Regions from separate parts of the Homo sapiens genome. Here regions 2, 3 and 4 are each linked to region 1. Evidence: promoter capture Hi-C in 16 types of primary human blood cells and fetal thymus (Javierre and others, 2016). All regions are on one chromosome and are shown on one strand. The core of a region is centred on a gene start or on the middle of the fragment in contact, and the rest is flanking DNA. Distances in the headings are between cores, read along the strand shown. Region 1 holds the start of PDE3A (phosphodiesterase 3A). Region 2 overlaps LOC101928387 (a long non-coding RNA gene). Region 3 overlaps AEBP2 (AE binding protein 2). Region 4 has its middle 240 kb from the start of LINC02398.

Region 1 (2,700 bases), core at 32-2,531:
AAATACACTTTAACCTGGAATGTCAAGATAATTAAGACAAAATTGGATTATTAAGATTATTATTAGTGAGGGCAAATGACATCTAAGATAGCCATGTTAAAAGTGGAGTATCATATTAAAAAGACAACTAGATCCCAGGGAACATCAATAGAGTTTAAGTCCATTGAACAGATACTGAATTCTTTTTCATAATCTGCCAAAAAAAGGTTAGCTTGAAAATTTTCTTTTAGTTTCTCAAATATCACACTGCTGCAGTACACGAACCTTTACTCATTAATAACTAAGGTCCTGATTTTTTTCATATGCTTTGCTCGAAGATGTAGTATTTTGCAGCCATAGACAGTCTTCTAAGATCTCTCCTAGTGTTAACCCACCTATCCTCACCTCTCCCTTGAGATTTTTCTTTATTTTTTGATGAACTATCTGGGCTTTTAAACTTTGTTAACCTTTTTTGAGGATACGGTCACTTAATCTCAATGTAATTTTACTTTCCACAGTCAAAAACTATTGTGTAATACTCATGCACTGGATTTAAATGACTGCTGCCTCTCCTTCCTTTCTTTTTATACTATTGTGGTCTAGGTAAGGCTGATTCTTCCATCATTTGAACCAACAGGCCAGGCTTGGGTTCTCATAAAGCAGACCTTCCAGCAGGAGCGACCAAAGGATGACACTGTCACCTGAAATTGGACTGCTGTTGTACCTGACTTGGGAACATCTTTGAATCAGACAGTAGAAGTGGCTGTCATTTTCAGGGACAGTAGAAAGTATGTTGGCTCTCATCTGCCAAGTAGGCAAACACAATCTTTTTTTTTTTTTTTTCCTTCCAACGTTCTAGGGAGCTCAGCCTCAGGGCTAGCCGCAGCCCCCCACACCCCGGGGCTGCGGTGGGCTGCGCGGTGGATCAGCCTCAGCAGCCCCTGCTCCAGCCTGTAGGGTGAACCGGCCGCTTTCCCAGCAAAGGAGCAATCGAGCTGAGGGTAGCGCCTCCTCCGCAGGAGGGGGCGGGAGCTCGGCTGAGAAAGCTTTCCTAGGGAGTTGCCTTAAAGAAAGAAAGCGGAATTGTCGATCACTCCAGTTGCCAGTTTTATACAATTTTAAGCAGTCGTCGCCACTCGTTTCCCCTTTGCAAAACTGCAAATCACCACCAACCTTGCATCAAATAGAAGTGGGGAGGGAAAAAAAAAGCAAATCTCCTTCTCCCTTCTCACCCTCCCTTTCTTCTCACCCTCCCTTCCTCTCTTACTCGCTCCTTCTCCCTCCCTCCCTTCTGCGGCTGCCGCTAGTCTCTCGGTCTGGCTCTCTCTCCGACGGGACTTAGCAACTTCTTATTTCTCAGCCCCTTGTCCATTTTTTTTTTTCCATCCTTTGCCATGAATTGGATTGACAGAGGCGGGGGAGGCTTTGCTTTCTGCCCCAGGGAATGGCGATTCGCGTCCTGGGGCCGTGCCGGGGAGAATCGGCCGAGGAGAAAGAAAGAGTGATAGAAAAAGAGCTGCAGGAAGGAGGAGAAGGGAGACCTCCATCTGCCGCGGGCCCGGCGCGCTGCAGCGCAGCGCAGCGCCGAGCTGCGCCTCGGAATGGCCCGGAGCCCGCCCTGCGCCCCCGGCTCCTCCAGCGTCAGCGGCTCCTGCGCGCGGGATGCATTGGGCAATTTTTGAAATCCTGAAGTAGGAAGAGACCCCGGAGGATATAAGTCGGGGGTGGGGGTGGAGCAGAGAATCTGTGAAAGATATTCAAAGAGAGAAAAGGGGAATCCTGATCGTTTCTGCCCGTGCTTGTTTTCAACTTGAGCGTGCTAGCCTTTAACTTGAAGAAGTCTCATTGGAGCATCTAGCATTCTCCAGGAGTTATTCGAAAGCTGAAACTTTCAGTGGATTGTGGGCCTGGGGAGAAGAAGGATTCCGAGGGTGGAATTGGGAAGAGCGTGCGTGCGTGTGTGTGTGTGTGTGTGTGCGCGCGCGCGCGTGGGTCGGGGCGGGGGCGTCGGGGGGCCACTGGGAATTCAGTGAAGAGGGCACCCTATACCATGGCAGTGCCCGGCGACGCTGCACGAGTCAGGGACAAGCCCGTCCACAGTGGGGTGAGTCAAGCCCCCACGGCGGGCCGGGACTGCCACCATCGTGCGGACCCCGCATCGCCGCGGGACTCGGGCTGCCGTGGCTGCTGGGGAGACCTGGTGCTGCAGCCGCTCCGGAGCTCTCGGAAACTTTCCTCCGCGCTGTGCGCGGGCTCCCTGTCCTTTCTGCTGGCGCTGCTGGTGAGGCTGGTCCGCGGGGAGGTCGGCTGTGACCTGGAGCAGTGTAAGGAGGCGGCGGCGGCGGAGGAGGAGGAAGCAGCCCCGGGAGCAGAAGGGGGCGTCTTCCCGGGGCCTCGGGGAGGTGCTCCCGGGGGCGGTGCGCGGCTCAGCCCCTGGCTGCAGCCCTCGGCGCTGCTCTTCAGTCTCCTGTGTGCCTTCTTCTGGATGGGCTTGTACCTCCTGCGCGCCGGGGTGCGCCTGCCTCTGGCTGTCGCGCTGCTGGCCGCCTGCTGCGGGGGGGAAGCGCTCGTCCAGATTGGGCTGGGCGTCGGGGAGGATCACTTACTCTCACTCCCCGCCGCGGGGGTGGTGCTCAGCTGCTTGGCCGCCGCGACATGGCTGGTGCTGAGGCTGAGGCTGGGCGTCCTCATGATCGCCTTGACTAGCGCGGTCAGGACCGT
Region 2 (2,700 bases), core at 33-2,532, 800 kb before region 1:
ATGTATTTCCCGTCGCAGGTGACCTGCCTCTTCTCTCTAGGTGCCTTTAATATTTTTTCTTTCATGTTTACCTTGGATAATCTGATGATTATGTGTCTTGGAGATGGTCATTTCTCTGCATTTCCTGAATTTGAATGTTGGTCTCTCTGTCGAGGCTGGGGAAATTTTCCTGGATGATATCCTCAAATACGTTTTCCAAGTTGTTTGTTTTCTCTTCCTCTCTTTCAGGGATGCCAGTGAGTCATAGGTTTTCTCTCTTTACATAATCCCATATTTCTTGTAGTTTTTGTTTATTCTTCTTTATACCTTTTTTCTGACAGTTATTTTTGAGAATCAGTCTTCAAGCTCTAAGATTCTTTCCTCAGGTTGGTCTGTTCTGCTGTTAATACTTGTGATTGTATTATATAATTTCTGTAATGCGTTTTTTGGCTCTATTAGATCAGTTTGGTTTTTTCTTATAAAAGCCATTTCATTTTTCAGCTCCTGGATTGTTTTACTGCAATCCTTAGATTCCTTGAATTGGGTTTTGACTTTCTCCCCAGTCTTGATGATATTCAATCCTATTTATATTCTGAATTCTGGCTCTGTCATTTCATCCATTTCAATCTGTTAAAGAACCCTTGCTGGGGAACCAGTGCCATCATTTGGAGGAAAGAAGACACTCTTGTCTTTTTGAGTTGCCAGAGTTCTCGCACTGGTTCTTTCTCATCTGGGCTGAAGTTCCTTTATCTGTGCTGTAATTTGAGTACAGTCAGTTTTCTGGATGTTTTCAGAGGGCCGAGGCTTTGTGCAGGGTCTTTATTTGTATTAACAGGTGAATTCTTATCTTTGGTTTCACAGGAGGATGTATTAGCAAAACGTTTTTGGTGTTGAAATTTGGGCTGTGATCCAGCAGATGGCGCTTAAGTGTAATGGCCAATTAGGTAGGCTCTTGCTCAGCCATGTGGGTCCTCTGTATTTCCTTGTGTTTGTAGTTGTACTCCCTCTCAGCACTCCCAATGTTTGGGCTCCTCTACTCCTCGATTCTGGCTGCAGATCTCGGCTTGCCACTCCCGGGCTGCACACTGAAGTCCTGAGCCGAGCTCAGGCTTTATGTTCCCTCCACAGCTTGGAGGAAGCAGGGGAAGGGATCTTGGCGGTGGCTGTGGAAGAGGTCCTTTCACTTGTCTCTTGGGGATCCATCCCAGAGAAATGCCGAGCCGCTCCCAATCAGCGGGATTGGCCGAGGGTGAGGTGGCTGGGTTGTGGGCCTAAGCCAAGGGGCCCGGCCTGGTGGTGAACAGGGGGGCCGATGGCTCACAGGAGAGACAGACTGGCCTCTTCTCCTTAGGACGGCTGTGGTGTGCTGGAAGTGTGGGTAAAGCACTCAGGGTTTTTGTTCCTTTCCCAATCTGAAGGCAGCAAGGGCAGGACCGCTGCGGTGGCAGTGAGAGACGGGCTTCTGGTTGTCTCTGGGAGCTCTCTATCTTGGAGATGCGCAGAGCTGCTGCTAATGGGAATGTTCAGCCAGGGGGTGAGACGGCTGCGCTGCTGGCCTGAGCCGGCCCTGCTTGGTGAAGAGTGGGGGCCGAGGGCTCACAGGAAAGGAGACTGGGCCCCTCTCTCTGCGGTGACTGTGGCGTGCTGGAGGCGCCAGTAAAATTTCCAGGCTCTGTTCCTTCTCCAGTCCAAGGGCAGCAAGGGCAGAACCGATGCAGTGGCTGCGACAGAGGGGCTGTCGGTTGCCTTTGGGACCGCCCCCCCTCTCCAGGGAAACTCAGAGCCCCCAGCAAAATGGGTGTGCTCAGCCGGGGGTGGGGCGGCTGCTCTGTGGTCCAGAGCTGGGGGCCCTGCCTGGTGAAGAGTGGGGGTGGGGGCTCTCAGGGAAGAGAGACTGGGCTTCTCTCTGCATGGTGGCTGCCATGCGCTCGCTCGAGGTTCCAGAGTAGCGAGCAGGCCCTTTGTTCCTTCCCTAGTTCAGGCTGGTCGTGCGGGGGCCCAGGTTGGGAGGCCCTGCCCAGTGAGGAGGAGCAAGGGCTGTCACCCCATGGAAAACAGTCTGGCAGCTTTTCCACGAAGCGCTGCTGTGCTGGAGGCCTGTCTTAGTTCCTAATCACAGCTTCCCTCAGGAACCTGGGGGGCAACAGGAGAGAGGATGGCAGAGCAGCAAAAATGGTGGCCTGCCTGCATCCTCTAGGAGCCGTGGCCCAGGGAAGTGGAGAGTTGCCCCCCACCTAAGAGTTAGGCGGGGCTGGCTGCGCTAGGGTCCCAGGCCAGTGGGTCTTGTCCAGTGAGGTGCAGTGGTGCGAGGCTCAAACTCCTGGGCTCACACAATTCTCCTGCCTCGGCCTAAGTGCTGGGATTACAGGCATTAGCCACTGCGCACTCTACCTTTTTTTTTTTTTTTCTTATTTTTTCTTCCAAACAGGATTTTGAGAGCCAAAAGAAAGGAACTGAAAGAATCTAGGCACATTATACTATAGCTATATAATTAGCAAGAAACTTGAGGAAGAATGAGATTGCCTCATCTGTGGCCTTGGGGAGAGGAGAGGAGGACATCTGGGTTATGGGATTAGAGTTTACAGGAGATTAGAGTTATGGGGTGATAAGCCCTCTGCTGGAGGGTGGAGAGAAATGAGGTGGGTATCAGGAACCTGGTGAGTTTCACTGGTGGCTGTCCTGAGGCAGCAAATGGGAGCCAAGCTGAAGCTTATAGAGAAT
Region 3 (2,700 bases), core at 86-2,585, 860 kb before region 1:
GATAAGGGTTGGATTCTGGTTATCTTTTGGAGTTACTATGGACAAGAATTATGGATGGATGAGATACTGGGTTTTAGAATAAGAGGTAACAGCAACTCCAAGGCTTTTTGGCCTGGGCAGCTCCGTGGCAGAGCCGTGGAGGCTCTCAGGCAAGCAGATTGGGGAGAGGGGAGTATCAAGAGATCTAATTTGGACATATTTAGAGGCCTATAGGGCATTCAGTGGCTCTGTCACTTAGGCTGATGGCTATAAATTGAGAGCTCAGAGGAGAGAGGTGTGGCTACAGATAGAAAATATGGGAATTTTTAGTGTATTTGTGGTATTTATAGGTATCAGACTGGATGAGATTACCTAGGAAATAAGTGTAAATAAAGAGAAAGTTAGCATAAGGATTGAAGTGTTTGGGGCTTACCAAACATTTAATGATTTAAAGGGCAATAGATTTAGTGAAATGGTGGTCTAGTAATGAGCTAGTGTCTCTACAGATAAGGGAGAAGTGATGTAAAAGGGAAGCACTAACTTGCATATGCTTTCATTAGAGCAGCTCCTTTTGATGAAATCCTTAGCTTCACCATGGGAGGAATAGCGATGGCTCCAAAAGAAGGAAAATGAAGGAACCAAAAATAGTGGTAATAATATTAGAAGTCTAGAAAGAAAATAAAAAATTTGCGCAGACTCAAAATAGTCCATGAAAATGAAAAGCTTTTGAGCTATGGAAAACATCTGAGAGGGCTTAAGAACATTGACACTTACATATATTGTAAGCTTAAAAACCTAGGAATGAGTGATGTCCACCCTTAAGTCACAGTGAGGAGGCAGAGGTACCTTAACTGAGGAAAAGTCACAAAGGTGGAATGTAATCTGAAGAATGATTTTTTTTCCTGGGGAAGGAAAGTGGAAGGAAGAGACATCCATAATGAGATAAGGTCTTCGCTGGACACAATAGAAAGGAAAGGAGCTAGGTGAGCAAATTGGAGCTCCAAAGTTCTATAACTGGGAAGGTTTTGATGGAGGCAGTACATGTTAAACAGAATCAATTCTGTTAGTAGTAAAAAACATTCAGTACTAACTGCAAATTTAAGTTACTTTGTTATCAAATTAACTTTTATAGAAAATAATACAAATAATGAAACAATTGGTTAAAAGAAGGCTATGAGGTACTATACTGTTTGGTTTGCCTAATGTGCCTTATTTCATTAATTGAAATATTTTCTTTCGAGCCTTCTCCAGAAGAGGTCAGCAAAATCCTAGTTACCAATCAGTTGGCTTGCTGTGCTTGGTTGGCTTGCATTGTTTTTGTGTATTATTTCATTGTAGAGGTATTTTGTTTTAGCAGCTCCAGACCTGTGTTTGGGCTTTTAAATTTTGTTGCCAAGTCTAGAATCAGAGTATTTATTTGACTACAGACTTTTTTTGTTGTTTTTAAAAAAACCATATTTTAAAAAATAAAAACTAGAAACGGGGATTCACCATGTTGTCCAGGCTGGCCTCGAATTCCTGGGCTCAAGCAGTCCTCCTGCCTCAGCCTCCCAAAGTGCTGGGATTATAGGTGTGAGCCACTGCGTCTGGCCTCACCATAGGTTTTTATATAGTGGAGACAGTGTTTTGTTTTTGCTTAAAGCTCTGCTTTTACTCAGTCCTAATATGTTTTCAGGATTACAAGATTATTTTGTTTGGGTGGTTGGAACTTGATTAAAAAAATTGAGATTAAGACTATTAAAACACTAAAGTTCTAATTTTGTTTATATGGAAATTTTAAGAGTTTGACGTTATTGTTTTGCCTGATTTTATTTTATTTAAGCATTATCTTAATTTTCAGAATCTGGTAATGAAAGGAAAATATATTGCTTTTCTTATACTTTTTTGGGTCTTTCTGTTAGATCGATGTTAACTTGCATAGATTCCTTAAGCTTAAACCTAGACTGATTGGCCTACCTTTCATTTAAAATAAAACCAACTACAGCAAAAAACTCCAGGAGATAAACAAATGCCTTAAGTTGTAAATTAGAGACTTTTCCTTCTCATTAGTATTTTTTCTTTACTGTTTATTCATTTAAAAATATTTCAAAGGCTTTCTTCTTCCTCTTCCGGAACGTTGTCTGCAGGCACTCAGAATGGTCCAGCATTTGACATACTGTCGTAGGCTTTTCTACAATACAGCCTCTAACAAAACAAGTCTGTCCCAGACCCTTGGTAATAGAGTTGTTTACCTTTTTACTAAGAACGTTGGGAAAGCACCAAAATCTGCATGTGGCATGTGCCCAGGCAGACATGGAGGGGTTCGTGCTGTGAGACCTAAAGTTCTTAATGAGATTGTCCAAAGCAAAGAACATGTCAGCAGGGCCTGTGGTGGTTCCATGTGTGCTAAATGTGTTTGTGACAGGATCAAACATGCTTTCCTTATTAAGGAGTAGAAAATTGGGGTGTAAGTGTTGAAGGCACAAGCACAGAGTCAGCTAAATTGAAAAATGCAACTTTTTTAAGTAATAAAAATGAAAAGACTTGAAAAAATTTCATCTACTATGAATGCTTTTGGTTGGCTAAGCTAAGCCACATACTTAGTAAAACAAATGGCATTTTCATTCTCTTAATAATAACATGGCTTTGGCTTGATTAGTTAAAGCTTCTTTAATTCACATATATTTGTGAAAATATATGATTAAAAGTGAAGTTGAGGCTGGGTGCTGTGGCTCACACCTG
Region 4 (2,700 bases), core at 66-2,565, 590 kb before region 1:
TCACACATTTCTTGGAGGGTTTTTTGTTGTTGTTGTTCATTTTAATTCTTCTTTCTTTATTTTTATTTGCCTGGGTCATTTTAGATAGCCAGTCTTTGACCTCCGAGATTCTTTCCTCAGCTTGGTCTATTCTGCTGTTAATATGCACAATTGCATTATGCAATTCTTTTTTTTTTCTTTTTAGACCAGTCCCCCATTATGCAATTCTTGTAGTGTGTTTCTCAGCTCTATCAGATTACTTTGGTTCTTTTTTATAATGGCTATTTCATCTAACGGCTCCTGTATTATGTGATTCTTAGGTTCCTTGGATTGCATTTCAATGTCCTCCTGAATCTCGATGATCTTTGTTCCTGTCTGTATTCTGAATTCTATTTGTATCATTTCAACCATTTCAGCCTCGTTAGGACAGTGTGGGCATTTGGAGGAAAGAAGGCACTCTGGCTTTTTTAATTGCCAGAGTTCTTGTGCTGGTTATTTCTCATCTGTGTGAGCAAGCTGATGTTCCTTTAACTGTGGTGTTGAGTACAGTCAGTTGACTTCCTTTCTGGATGTTTTCAGAGGGCCAAAGCTTTGTTCAGGTGTTTATTTGTAGCTAAATTCTTGTTTTTGATTTCACACGGTGAGTATATTAGCAAAGTATTTTTTGGTATTGATGTTTTGTGCTGTGATCCAGTAGGTGGCACTTAAGTGTAATGGCCGGTAGGTAGGGTCTTGCTCAGTTAACACAGCTCCCCTGTATTTCTTCACAATTGCAGTTGTACTCCCTCTCAGTGCTCTGAAAGTGTGGGTTTATCTCCCACTTGAGTGCTGGCTGCATGTCTCAACTTGGCACTCCTGGGCTGCACACCACAGCTCTAGGGTGATTTCTGGCTTTATGTTCCTTTCCCAGCTTTGAGGCAGCAGGGGAAGGGACTTCAGCGGTGGTTGTGGCAGAGGGTCTTTGATTTGTCTCTTTGGGCTCCAGCCCAGAAACATGCAGAGCTGCTATCAATCAGTTTAATTAGCCTGGGGTGGGGCAGCTGAACGGTGGGTCCACACTAATGGGGCCCCACCTGGTGATGAGCAGGGGCCTTGGGTGGGACCTGGGGGAGACAAACTGGCCTCTTCTCCTTAACGCAACTGCCATTCGCTGCAAGTGTGATTAAAGCACTCAGCGTCTTTGCTTCTTTCCTGGTCTGAAGGTAGCAAGGGCAGCACCACTACAGTGGCAGTGGCAAGGGGGTTTTTGGTTGCTTCTGGGAGCTCCACCTCAGAGAAATTCGAAGCTGCTGCTCCCAGGAATGTTCGGCCATGGGGTGGGGCAGCTGCTCTGCTAGCCTGAGCCGGGCTCTGCTTGTTAAAGAGCAGGAGGTTTGTCCACAGCTCACAGGGATGAGAGACTGGGCTCCTCTCCACTTGGTGTGCTGGAAGCTCGGGTGAAGCCCTTAGATTCTTTGTTTTTTCTCCAGACTGAGGGCAGCAGAGGCAGAATCATTGCTGTGGCAGTGGCAGGGGGGCTTTTGGTTGCTTCTGGGAGCCCCTCACCCGGGAAGAACAGCCCCTACCAGTGGGTATGCCTAACCATGGGTGGGTCAGCTGTTCTGCAGTCCCAAGCCGGGGGCCCTGCCTGGTGAAGAGTTTTGGGGGCAGTGGGGAGGGAGGGTGTCACAAGGAAGAGAGACTGGATTCCTTTTTGTCTGGTGGCTGCAGTATGTTGCATTTGCCAGCGTAGCTATTGTGCCTTCTGTTCCTTCCCCAACCTGTGGGAGGTTAGGGTGTTATTACTGTAGCTGCAGAGGCAGAGGGGTTGTGGGTTGTCTCTGGGATTTCCTCCCACCTCTGACTAAAGGGTTCAGGAAGGGGCAGGGTAGTTTTGCTAGAGTCCCAGGTTGGGTGGCCCTACCCAGTGATGAGAAGCTGAGAGAGAAGCCCACGTGGAGAACAATCCAGTCACTTTTCTGTGGGAGGGCTGCACTGTTCTGGGGAACTATGCCACTTCCTAATCACCGTGTACTCTCCAGACCAGAAGGCAATAGCAGCAGGATCTGGAAGACGCAAAAACTGTGGCCAGCCTCTCCCTCTGCAAGCTTCCGTCTCAGGGAAGTGTAGATCTGTACTAGCCTGAGAGCCCTGGTTGTGGTGAGTACAGAGTGGCTGGAGTCCCAGATAGATGGGTCCCACTCAGTGAGGAGAAGTGGGATCAGGGACCCATGTAAAAAACAATCTGGCCACTTTACCTTGGGTCAGTTGCGCTGTGTGGGGGATCCATGCCACTCCCTAATCACCACTTGCTCTCCAGAGCCTGAAGGCTATAGCAGCAGAGACTGCAAGGCAGCAAAAACTGGTGGCCGGACTCTCCTTCTTCACACTGCATCCTAGGGAAGTGCCGAGTTGCTACCAGCCTGAGAGCCCTGGTTGGGGTTGGCTGGAGTCCCAGGCTGTGGGGTCCCACCCAGTGAGAAGAAGCAGGACACATATAAAAAACAGTTTGGCCGAATATCCTTGATGAACGTTGATGTAAAAATCCTCAACAAAATACTTGCAAAACAAATCCAGCGGCACATCAATGGTGTATATACAGGGAGCTAATTCTCCATGATAAAGTAGGCTTCATCCCTGGGAAGCAAAGTTGGTTCAACATAGGCAAATCAATAAATGTGATTCATCACATAAACAGAACAAAAGACAAAAACCACATGATAATCTAAATAGAGGCAGAAA

The links. Contacts are between HindIII fragments. The CHiCAGO score rates a contact against its expected background, and 5 or more counts as called.
Region 2: a contact is called between a fragment that was not itself captured here and the fragment with the promoter of PDE3A in region 1, in 2 of 17 cell types (megakaryocytes and erythroblasts). The highest score is 12.1, in megakaryocytes.
Region 3: a contact is called between a fragment that was not itself captured here and the fragment with the promoter of PDE3A in region 1, in 1 of 17 cell types (megakaryocytes). The highest score is 7.3, in megakaryocytes.
Region 4: a contact is called between a fragment that was not itself captured here and the fragment with the promoter of PDE3A in region 1, in 1 of 17 cell types (M2 macrophages). The highest score is 5.7, in M2 macrophages.

Annotation. Positions count from the first base shown.
Region 1 is chr12:20,367,256-20,369,955 of GRCh38, forward strand. PDE3A (phosphodiesterase 3A) reads left to right here and starts at 1,282. Exons shown (of 16, transcript NM_000921.5): 1 at 1,282-2,700. The coding sequence starts at 2,030. It overlaps PDE3A-AS1 (PDE3A antisense RNA 1), which reads right to left. Exons shown (of 2, transcript NR_186033.1): 1 at 2,586-2,700. RefSeq lists a silencer at 2,320-2,614. The HindIII fragment of the contact is 3,200 bases long and covers 1,024-2,700 here.
Region 2 is chr12:19,572,136-19,574,835 of GRCh38, forward strand. All of the region lies in intron 3 of LOC101928387 (a long non-coding RNA gene), which reads left to right. Among named protein-coding and RNA genes, the nearest start is that of AEBP2, 130 kb to the left of the region's middle. RefSeq lists an enhancer at 1,010-1,099. The HindIII fragment of the contact is 2,808 bases long and covers 1-2,686 here.
Region 3 is chr12:19,506,790-19,509,489 of GRCh38, forward strand. The region is part of intron 5 of AEBP2 (AE binding protein 2); the gene reads left to right. It also overlaps the pseudogene RPL34P25. Among named protein-coding and RNA genes, the nearest start is that of AEBP2, 69 kb to the left of the region's middle. The HindIII fragment of the contact is 1,145 bases long and covers 764-1,908 here.
Region 4 is chr12:19,778,295-19,780,994 of GRCh38, forward strand. No RefSeq gene overlaps it. Among named protein-coding and RNA genes, the nearest start is that of LINC02398, 240 kb to the right of the region's middle. The HindIII fragment of the contact is 1,498 bases long and covers 567-2,064 here.